Linked DNA regions of Homo sapiens: regions 1, 2 and 4 are each linked to region 3. The links are contacts of gene promoters, found by promoter capture Hi-C in human tissues and cell types (Jung and others, 2019). All regions are on one chromosome and are shown on one strand. Each heading gives the region's core, a stretch centred on a gene start or on the middle of the fragment in contact. The rest is flanking DNA. Distances are from core to core; before and after follow the strand shown.

Region 1 (2,700 bases), core at 95-2,594, 210 kb after region 3:
CTTTTCTTAGAGAAATGGGAGTATAAGCTACATACTCTTCTCCCAAATTATAAACCAAATTTTTTTTCTAGTCAAGTTCCCGATGCTTGTAGAGGAAGGTCTGACCTCAGACTTTGCACGTCATCATCATCTACCCAATTTGAAACAAGTTATTTCTGCTTTTTTGTCAAGGGTCTATTACTATTTGTAGGCATTGCTTTTGTTTTGTTTTATTTTGTTTTGTTTTGTTCTGTTTGGAGACAGAGTCTCTCTCTGTTGCCCAGGCTGCAGTGCAGTGGCACAATCTCGGCTCACTGCCACCTCCGCCTCCTGAGCTCAAGCAATTCTTGTGCCTCAGCCTCCCAAGTAGCTGGGATTACAGGAGTGTGCCACCACACCTGGCTAATTTTTGTATTTTTTGTAGAGACAGGATTCCACCATGTTGGCCAAGCTGGTATCACACTGCTGACCTCAAGTGATCTGTCTGCCTTGGCCTCCTAAAGTGCTGGGATTACAGGCGTGAGCCACCGCGCCTGGCCAAGGCATTGTTAATTGAGCTTTCAAACAACCCCATGCCCATGGGATAGGTATTACCTCTGGTTTTTGTAGAAGAGGAAACTGGGACTCAATGAGCTGGGATTTGAACAAGTGCCTCCCTGATTTCACTTACTTGTTCATAAATATTTCTGCAGCACCTAACTGTTTCAGACCCCATCCTAGGTACTAGGATACAGAGATGACCCACAGAGGGTCTTGTCCTCCTGGAGCTCACATCTAATGGGGTCATCATGTCTGAGCAGACAACTGTGGTATGGGACTGTCTGTCTGCCCACCTACTGCAAGGCAGCTCCTCAAAGGAATCTGCATCTGATCCACTCTGGGTGACAGCCCAGCACAGCTGAAATCAGCGGATGTTTGTTGAATGAATAAGTAAATAAATAAAGTTAAAAAAAAAACAACAAAGCTTGAAGTTGTTAATGGAAGTCTAGTGCCTCTGAAACTAGCAAACCTTTGTAAAAAATTTTAATAACATTTAAGTTATGAATATAATGTACTTCATTTTAGAAAAATTGGAAAGCATAGAAAAGCACAAATGAGAAAATAAAAATAATCCATAATACCAGCCCCCAGAGTTAGTCTTTTTGTTTTTCATTTTTTATTTTTTAATATTTATTTATTTATTTATTTGAGATGGAGTCTTGCTCTGTCACCCAGGCTGGAGTGCAATGGCACAATCTCAGCTCATTGCAACCTCCATCTTCCAGGTTCAAGGGATTCTTCTGCCTCAGCCTCCTGAGTAGCTGGGATTACAGGCACACATCACCATGCCCAGCAAATTTTTTGTATTTTCAGTAGAGATGGGGCTTCACCATGTTAGCCAGGCTGGTCTTGAACTCCTGACCTCAAGTGATCAGCCCGCTTTGGCCTCCCAAAGTGCTGGGATTACAGGTGTGAGCCACTATGCCTGGGCTTATTTTGTTTTTTCTGCATAAACATCCTTTAAGAAAAAAATTTGGATCACACCATCTACATAGCTTTGTTGTTTGCAATGAGAAAAATCTCTAACAATGCATCATGACCATTTTCCTAAGCGAATATCCCTTTAAAGCTAAGCGTCTACTTAGAGGTTGGATTTATTTTTTGCCAGTGATGACATTCTTCACCACATAAAATACTTATAAACTCAAGATTAAGGCTGAAATCACAATGGGAAGAATAGCAGGCTTTCAGGCTGCATGCTGTGCCTCAGTCTCGATTACACAATCCTTCCCCAGCAAACGCCAGGGAAATTCGACGAAGACATCAGCCTGGGGGGATCAGTCTTCCTTGGACCCTTTAATACTAGGAGTTGTATTATCAGCACAACCGCTTTCTGCAGTTCCGATCTTTGCAGGTACTACTAAAATTTCCTCTTGGCTGCAGAGAGGAACTATCATACAGTCTTTAGAGCATGTGATTAAGGGCTGGCTCTGGAGTCGGACCTCCACCTAAGTCCTGCTGCACCTGAGATGGTCGTGTGACCTTGGCAAGGGACTTCACTCTGTGGGCTCTAGATCCCTCATCTGTAACTCAGGGCAGCTACTGTACCCACCCCTGCAGGCAGTCATGAGGAATCAATAGCACAGTGCCTAACACATAAGCCACCCATAAATATCAGCTATTATTATGACAACTTGTGTGTTTGGAGCTTCTGCTCTTATTTTCTGAGCTGCGCTTGCCATTCGCTGGTATCAGGGCTGCTCTTGGCAGCTTGTCTTGATGGGAAGATAATCCAGGCCTTATGAAGTATCTGGATGGCTGCCATCATCTTGCTTGGAGGCACTGGGCATGGGTGTCTCAAGCATGCTCTGACCCCACCTGCACCTTAAGCAGCCACGCACCACAATTCCACTGACAGAGGCTTATGATTTTATTTTATTTGTTAACAAGTTCATTTATGACATGATTACATTCATTATGATGTGATTACTGTACAAATAATCAGGGGAGGCAAGATCACATCATAAATAAGTTTATGGTCTTTGGAGTTGGACAACATGGGTTCAAATCCCAGCCCTCTTACTTAATTTTTTTTGCAACACAGGGTCTCACTGTGTTGCCCAGGGTGGAGTGCAGTGGCCCAATCATGGCTCACCACAGCCTTGACTTCCCAGGCTCAAGCCATCCTCCCATCTCAGCCTCCCGAGTAGCTGGGACCACAGATGGCATGTGCCACCACGC
Region 2 (2,700 bases), core at 113-2,612, 140 kb after region 3:
TCCTGGGCTGCTCTGTGGATGCCCCCAAGGCAGCACCGCCCAGTGTGTTTATACTCCAGCTCCCGTCACGCGGCACATGCGCACAAAGATATATGTACCAGGATGCTCACTGATGTATGGTGTGTGTGACAGCAAAGCACTGGCAGCTGCCCAAAGGGCTGTCAGTAGGGAAATGGGTTCATAAATCAAAGTTCACCCATTCCCTGGACTGTTACGTCGTGGCTGCAAGATACAGCAAATCTGCGTGTACTGATGTGCGCAGGTGTTCTCAGCGTGTTGCTAAGTGGGACAAGCCAGTACAGAGCAGAGCAGTTAGAGGAAATATGGATCCCATCAAAAGGAAAACCAAGTGGATGTGCACAGAACATGCTCCTATGTTGTAGGAAAGGCCTGGAACGTTACGCATCTGTCAACTGACCGCCTCTGGGAAAGGGGTGAGGGAACGGATGAATACTGTCCCATTTTGTTTGACTTCTGCTTTGCCTGAATTTATTTTACAATGAGCAACAACGATTTTGTAATATAAAAAATAAAAAATCTATAAGAAATACAGAGAACAAAAGAGACCGATTTGTCATTTCGCCCTAAGCTCAGTTCCCTCTGACCAGCTCTTCTGGAAATGACTGTTCTCCCAGGGCTGAGAGAGAAGAAACCTCGAACCCTTCGCCCAGGCCTCTTCCTCTCCCATTCTTCCCACGCCGCCCCTCTGCAGGCCCTCATCCCTGTATACCTGCCCTGCCCAGGCCTCCTTGTCCCCTCTGCTGTCTCCTGTCTCTTTCAGAATGAAAATCAAACTGCATCACGGCCTGCTCAGAAGTCTTCAGAGTCTCTCCACTTACACGCAACAGGACAGGGCAGCCCTGACTACCCAGTGTGTTATCAGCGTACAGCACATAGAACATGCGTACGTAAAGCACGTACGTAAAGCACATAGAATGGCGCCAGTGAGGTTATTATTAGCATTGCTATTAACAACCTGTTTTTCTCACTTCCCTTCTTCCTTTTGCCCTCAATTTCCTTTCTTTGCCCTCACTTACTTTTCCACCCTCTTTCTCCCTTCCTGCTTCCCTTTCCTCTTTCCAGAAATGGATCTGCAGCTCCAGCCACACCAGGGCAGGCTCTCCCTAATCCCATCAGCCTCTGTCACCTGGCTCAGCTGCTCTGGACTCTGAGGTCCGTGGCCTCAACTCCGTGCCTTGGCTCTCCCTGTCCCCTCTCCTGGGCCTGCCCCCTGCCCCTCCAGGGCTGTCAGCTGAATGCTTTTCATCCTTCCAGGCTGGATTCGATGGGCACTTCCTTCAGGGAGCCTGCCTGCTCCCAGCATCTTCCAGTGGGCTGCCCCCCAGGAGGTGGTGAGCAGAGCACCAGAGCTGCGTTCAGACCCGTCTGTGCCTCTCAGCAAATCTCTCAAACCTCAGTTTTCCCATCTGTAAAATAGGCCGGCCATAGAAGCTGCCTGGTAGGTTGTTCTGAGGGTTACTGAGGCGCAGGGCAGACCGCCTCGGCACAGCGCCTAGCTCGGGAACCTCTGCGTAGGAGCTGTGATGAGAGGCCTCCTCCTCCGATCTTTGTTCACCAGCACATCTCAGCCTCTCCGCACATGCTGCCTGCTGGGTTCTGGTCAGCGTTTGCATTCACCCTGGAGACAATGGTGTAGCCCTCGGGGAGGGCCCACGCTGGCCTTGTTGGGGCTGTGAGGAGGTCTCCATGCAGAGGGACACAGCTGAGCTGCCCCGGGCTGGCATGGGCTGGCCCCACCGAGGTAGCGGGCTACCCGGGGGGTTGGTAGGGGGCAGCTGGTGCCTACTCTGTTCAAAGGCCAGCGATTCTCCACGGCTGGTGAAGCGGGTGGAAGGCTGTCCTGTGAACCCCTCCTTCCAAAGACACACCACCCAGGGGAAGGAGTGGTCCAGATCAGAGACAGGGCAACCCCGCCCCTGCAGCCCAGCAGAAGGAACACCGGAGGCGCTTTTGTTTCTCTGGTAAGAGGAGCCTCCCGCCTCCTCCAGACTCACCCTCCCAGAGCAGCCCCGCTGGCCGGTGGCCGCCAAGCTCCAAACTGGGCGAGCCTTTTCTCCAACACTCAGTAAATACTCAATACTGCATTAAAGCAATAAATAGTCATTTTAAGGAAACCGAGACTCAATTTAGCCACCAGAGTCAGGAGCAGCGGTTAGCAGGGCTGCGGAATGTCACTGCACAGCTGGCAGCCCCGCCCCCGCCGCCCCAGCCCTGGCTCCAGGGGGAGGCCCAACAATGGCCGTGCCAGGCTGCACCGCCCCTCCCCCCAAATCAGGTTACGATGGACCGTGGAGGAGGGGGACCGGCTCAGCCAGCAGCTAGCTCCAGGGAGCTGGAGGAAGCCAGAGAGGCGCGAAGGCATGGAGGAACACCCCACCTCCACCTGGGGATAATAATAATAAAACTAACAAGAACAGCAGCATTGGCAGGAAGAAGACAAGCAATTCCTGAATGGACACTTGCCCAACGCAAGCACAGCGCTAAGGACGGTACAGGCATCCCTGTGTTTAATGCTTCAGCCTCTCCAATGAGAGAGATACCTTCATCCCAACTTCGTAGGTAGAGAAACTGAGGCTCAGGAAGCTGAATTACTTTGGTCAAGGTCAGGAAATACTTGCACAACGTGTGCATTTATTTATTTTTTTCCAGACGGAGTCTCTCTGTTGCCCAGGCTGGACT
Region 3 (2,700 bases), core at 132-2,631:
TTAAGTGCTCTCAAACAACATTTGTCCTTTTGTGTGTGGTTTATTTCTCCCGTGGTGCTTTTATAAAGCAAATAATAAATTCCCAATTATTAGGTTTCTTATAATTTAACTGAAAATGCTGACACAATCTCTGAACTAAGCATGCAGTTATCCCAGAAACCCTGCTACTGTTCCAGTAGCCCCAAAGACCTCAGTCTGATCCTTTCTTAGCCTGTAGACAGGCCTGTTAAACAGCTGTAACTCAAAGAGCAGGCTCCAGAGATCCCTGGAGACCATCCTGTGGTGAGTGGATAGAGCGAAGGCATTTGGGAAGCTGTGCAGGCCTGAGAAACCACAGGCGAGAAAAGGAGAGGACTCATCAAGCTGCTCTGGCCCTAAAATGGGCCTCCTGTCTCCCTGACAGGCTCTCCTGCACTCTGACACTTATGTTGGGCGACACCTGTCAGAGTTGAGGCCAAACTGCGGTCGAGTCACTGAGAGTGTCACCAGTGCAGGGAACTTCACGGGGTCATGAGTCACCTTCCATGGCTCAGAGGTCTGGGCAGCCCTGCCCCACCCAAACTCAGGAAAGAGAGACAAGAGGCAAAAACAAAGTTGGCAGAAAGAGAGAAACAGACAGATGGCCAAAAAGCCAGACTGACAGGCCCTGAATTAGAGTAAGGGCTGAGTGGCAGAGACAGGGTGAACAGACACAGAAGCAAGGTGGAGACAGATATAAAACAGGATCCAGATACCCCGACAAAGACAAAGTGGAGAGAAATATCAGGTTGACAGCGACCTAGCTGAAAGACAAAAAGGGCAGGTTACAACAGGTGACAGAGACAGCAACAGGGGATGCTGAATGTTTTACTTAAACAGAAGATCAGCTAAGTCCAGGCGCAGTCTTTCTCCCAGCTCGGCTCGTCAGGCCTCAGGCATTGGTGGCTCGAACCCGAGGTCGTCAAGCCGCGCCCACCCTACGCCCCGAAAGGCCAGCGGACGGACGGGGGCGGGATCTCTAAGCGCTGTGGCCGGCGGAGCTCCGCCGCCGCGAGGGTGACCTTGGGCGAGAAGCTGCCCCAAAGGCCTCGGTATCGCGGTCTGCGCGCCGTGTGGGCAGAAGACTGCGGGATTCGGAGCTGGAGCGCCGGGACCCCAACCTCCCGCGCGGGGCTTTGGTATGCCGGTCCACGGAATGGGCCTGGCGGGGCCAGCGGCGCGAGCGTCGGGGCCTGCTGAGGAGCCCTTAACTCCCCCACCGACTTCTCCTCCCCTACCCTTGCCGCCCGTGGTCCTGGCCACGCAGTACCTGCCAAGGGCTCAGCGCTCACATCCCCCGCCCAAGATATCCTCTCTGCCGCCGGCGCAGGCCTGTTGTAGCCTCAGCTGCCGCAACAGATTCAGCCTGTGCCTTCAGCCCCCGGAAACGCTTCCCGGTCCCGCCCCCCGAAACTGACAGTGCTTCCGGGGGTGCGTCAGAGAGAAAGCGGAGTGCGCATGCGGGACTTACCGTCTGAGCTGGGCGTCGGGAGAGAGCGCGGAGGTAGCGGGCGCCTGCGCAGTACACTCTGGAGCGGGTCAATTTTAGGGACTGACTACGCTGTTGAAAATAGGGGAGCAGATACTGAGTTCTAAACCTTCTTGAAACCTTGGCATAGGCCAGGCGCGGTAGCCCACGTCTGTAATCCCTGCACTTTGGGAGGCCGAGAGGGGATGATCGCTTGAGGCTAGGAGTTCGAGACCATCCTGGCCAACATGGTGAAACCCTGTCTCTACAAAACATACAAAAATTAGCTGAGCGTGGTTGCGCGCGCCTGTAATCCCAGCTACTTGGGAAGCTGAGACAGGAGAATTGCCTGAACCCGTGAGGCAGAGGTTGCAGTGAGCCGAGATCACGCCGCTGCACTCCAGCCTGAGCACAGAGCAAGACTCTTAAACAACAACAACAACAACAACAAAACAAACAAAAACACCTTGACCTTCTCCGTCTCTTCTCTAAACAAACGAACGAAAACCTTGACCTCAGTATGCCTGGCGGAGATTATCTCCAAATCCGTTTCTGCCTTCACAGCACCCATCTCGCTTTTTGGCATGTAGTAGATGCTCAGTAAATGGTCAATGAAAGGACCAGTGCCTTTCCGTGGGCTGCATTGTGCTGGGCACTGGGGTCACACAGATGGTGGGACAGAAACGATCTCTCTAGCCTCCAATTCTCCCACTCCCTCCCAAAACCTCCATACCTCTTCTCGCCCCTTTCTTCCCCACTGCCCCCCCATGTTAGTGTAGAAGAGAGATAGGTCTTTAGCGGTGGGACTCTTACCTTTGGACCCGTTTACAGACCAAGTGCCCTCTTTGTAGAAGAACTAATTTATACCTGAAATCCAGGCAGCTGAAGCGATGTGGTCATAATGCCTTCTGGATTTAGGGTGGATGTTCTCGTGGGGCCTGACATGCCTGTTTGATATTGTCTGTCTCAGTTTAAGCTGATTGGTTTCCCAGCTGTTATGCCTGTCTTGCTTGTTGTTGGGCCCTAGGACACAGGAGTGTAGCTTTCCTAGAGAATTCTACCAAAAAAATTTTTTTTTCTAGAAAACAAAATGAAAGAAAACAAATATGGAAGCACAGAAATGGGAGTGGATGCAGAACAGCTTGTCAAAGATTCTACTTCAAACATGTATGCTCCAGCTCCCCCGCCTTGTGGTTTTGTTTTGTTTTGTTTTG
Region 4 (2,700 bases), core at 43-2,542, 250 kb after region 3:
GCTCCGCCCACCTTGGCTTCCCAAAGTGCTGGGATTACAGGCGTAAGCCACTGCCCGTGGGCTCTATGTTCTTTTTATAATCATCTGTCCATTAATGTGTTTACCCTGATTTTATTTTATAATTAACTAAAAACCAAATCCACATTATTATTATTATTATTTGAGACGGAATCTTGCTCTTGTCGCCCAGGCTGGAGTGCAATGGTGTGATCTCTACTCACCACAACCTCCGCCTCCCGGGTTCAAGCAATTCTCCTGCCTCAGCCTCCTGAGTAGCTGGGATTACAGGCATGTGCCACCACGCCTGGCTAATTTTGTAGTTTTAGTAGAGACGGGGTTTCTCCATGTTGGTCAGGCTGGTCTCGAACTCCCGACCTCAGGTGATCCGCCCACCTCGGCCTCCCAAAGTGCTGGGATTACAGGTGTGAGCCACCATGCCCGGCCTTGTTATTTTTGAGGCAGTGTCTCCCTCTGTCATCCAGGCTGGAGATCACTGCTTGCTGCAGCCTCGACCTCCCAGGCTCAAGAAATCCTCCCACGTCAGCCTCCTGAGTAGCTGGGACTACAAGTACACACCACCATGCCCAGCTAATTTTTAAATTTTTTGTAGAGATGGAGTTTTGCCATGTTGCCCAGGCTGGTCTCGAACTCCTGGCCTCAAGCAATCCTCCCACCTTGGCCTCCAAAAGTGCTAGGATTACAGGCATGGCAACTGCGCTGGGCCCAAATCCACATTATTTTGATGAGAGAATGAGAAATTGTTCTGGTGCCCAGTGGAGAAGAGACAGGCAAAAGATTAGGAAAGGTGGTGGGGAGGCTGCTGGCATGACCAGGTGTGGGGTGATATAGGAGGGGGGATTACCGGGGACTATGAGGGCCAGAGCCTCAGTTTCATCATCTGGAAAATGGGGCTAAGGGCCAGTCATGTGCTTAAATTACAACGTTCATATAAAAATTGCAGCCATTTATGGACGCTCACTCCACGCCCTTCACTGCCTTATTTATTAATAACTCCCCCACCCCCACCCACATTCCCAGGTGAAGACCATTATCTGCGTTTCCTAGCTAGGGAAGCTGAGCCTGTGGTCCATTGAAATCCTAGCTCAGCCATATTCAAGCGGTGTAACCCGGTCAGTTGTTCCTGAGCCTCAGTTTCCCTATCTGTAAAATGAGGACAACAGTCCCTACTTCGTGAAGCTTTGTGGAGGTCGTCGGATTGTGTACCTGAAGCTGGGTGCGTCGGTGTATGGGAGCTGTGCCTCATCATTACCAAAGAGCTGAGGTACTGTCCTGGGACCACATTGCCAACAAGTGGCTGCGCCAGGATCCCATCCAGGTTTCTCTGTCCCCAGAGCTGTGTTCCTGGGGTGGGAGGCTCCCCTGCTTAGTAGGAGCTCTGGGTGGCAGGTGTCTCCTGGTGCATAGTGGGGCTGGGCGTGGGAGGCCCTGCCCAGAGCTCCTCGCTGGTGTTGCAGCAGGGGCAGGGGCAGGGGCAGGGGCAGGGGAAGGGTCAGGGATGCTGGCCCCGTCGAGAGTTCCAGGGCCCGTGTGCTCAGTGTGGCAAGCGGTTTCCCAACAGCTGCCGCTCCGCTAATGGGCCTCCCTTCGTAGCAATCTGCTGTGATAACAGACAGGTTTAATTAAAAAGAACACGCGTCCTCCTCTGCAGGAAGGCTGCGGCCAGGATGTGGGGCCTGCAATGAAAACTTAGCTCCATAAAGCCCACACACAGGCATGGGTGCCCGGAGCTGCCGAGTTTTCTAAAAGGAGCGCACCCCGCCCCCTGCCATATCTGTTATTTATCGAGTTAATTTTGTCCTCTGGCAGCAGCATGAACCAACTCCGAGTCCCTGAGCCCTGACCCTGACTTGCCTCCCATTCCCAGGCTGTGCCAGGCACGGGCTTTTGCCTCCTGTGGGACAAGAGAGGCCGGGAATGCCAGCTTTGAACCAGGAAAACCTGGGAGGGGGGACCTGTCCCTGACTTTGTGATGCTGGGCAACTGACTCAGCCCTCTCAGAGCTCCTGTTTCTGCATCCAGGAATGGGGCAGAGGCTGATGCCGCCTCCGAAGGCTAAGTGAGGCCTGAACGAGGCAAGGGGAAAGGTGCCTGGCACCTGGTGGGTACTTGGAACGTGCTGGCTGTTGTTATGGTTGGAGTGATGACTGCTAGTGGTGGGACTGCTGGATGGAGCCCGGGGGCCTTGGTGAGAGGGTGGCTGGAATGGTTGGGCAGGCCCAGGCTGGCCCTCAAACTAGTAGACATGGATACTTTAAGAGTGGAATTAAAGCTAGGCACGGTGGCTCATGCCTGTAATCCCAGAACTTTGGGAGGTCGAGGAGGGTGGATCACCTGAGGTCAGTAGTTCAAGACCAGCCTGGCCAACATGGCGAAACCCTGTTTCTACTAAAAATACAAAAATTAGGCGTGATGGCGGGTGCCTGTAATCCCAGCTACTTGGGAGGCTGAGGCAGGAGAATCGCTTGAACCCAGGAGGCGGAGGTTGCAGGTTGCAGTGAGCCAAGATTGCACCACCACATTCCAGCCTGGGTGACAGAGCGAGACTGTCTCAAAAAAAAAAAAAAAAAAAAAAAAAAGAGTGGAATTAAGAGTGGAGACTTTGGAATCAGAAAGACTTCAGTTTAAATCCTGGTTCTGCCACTTACTACCTGTGTGGACCTGGCTGAGTGAATTCGTCCC

The links. The method cuts DNA at HindIII sites, captures the fragments that hold promoters and counts their contacts. A contact is called where the count stands out against the background at its distance.
Region 1: a contact is called between a fragment that was not itself captured here and the fragment with the promoter of ZBTB43 in region 3, in 2 of the 25 tissues and cell types used here (mesendoderm cells and thymus).
Region 2: a contact is called between a fragment that was not itself captured here and the fragment with the promoter of ZBTB43 in region 3, in 2 of the 25 tissues and cell types used here (bladder and mesenchymal stem cells).
Region 4: a contact is called between a fragment that was not itself captured here and the fragment with the promoter of ZBTB43 in region 3, in 2 of the 25 tissues and cell types used here (aorta and lymphoblastoid cells).

What each region holds. Positions count from the first base shown.
Region 1 is chr9:126,591,663-126,594,362 of GRCh38, reverse strand. No RefSeq gene overlaps it. Among named protein-coding and RNA genes, the nearest start is that of LMX1B-DT, 21 kb to the left of the region's middle. The HindIII fragment of the contact is 5,469 bases long and covers 1-2,700 here.
Region 2 is chr9:126,664,840-126,667,539 of GRCh38, reverse strand. The region is part of intron 2 of LMX1B (LIM homeobox transcription factor 1 beta); the gene reads right to left. Among named protein-coding and RNA genes, the nearest start is that of LMX1B, 52 kb to the right of the region's middle. RefSeq lists an enhancer at 1,099-1,938 and a silencer at 1,816-2,110. The HindIII fragment of the contact is 9,165 bases long and covers 1-2,700 here.
Region 3 is chr9:126,803,721-126,806,420 of GRCh38, reverse strand. It overlaps ZBTB43 (zinc finger and BTB domain containing 43), which reads right to left and starts at 1,381. Exons shown (of 3, transcript NM_014007.4): 1 at 1,289-1,381. RefSeq lists enhancers at 207-356, 507-616, 1,027-1,086, 1,154-1,655 and a silencer at 1,717-1,766. The HindIII fragment of the contact is 16,594 bases long and covers 1-2,700 here.
Region 4 is chr9:126,550,216-126,552,915 of GRCh38, reverse strand. No RefSeq gene overlaps it. Among named protein-coding and RNA genes, the nearest start is that of LMX1B-DT, 62 kb to the left of the region's middle. The HindIII fragment of the contact is 5,058 bases long and covers 1-2,700 here.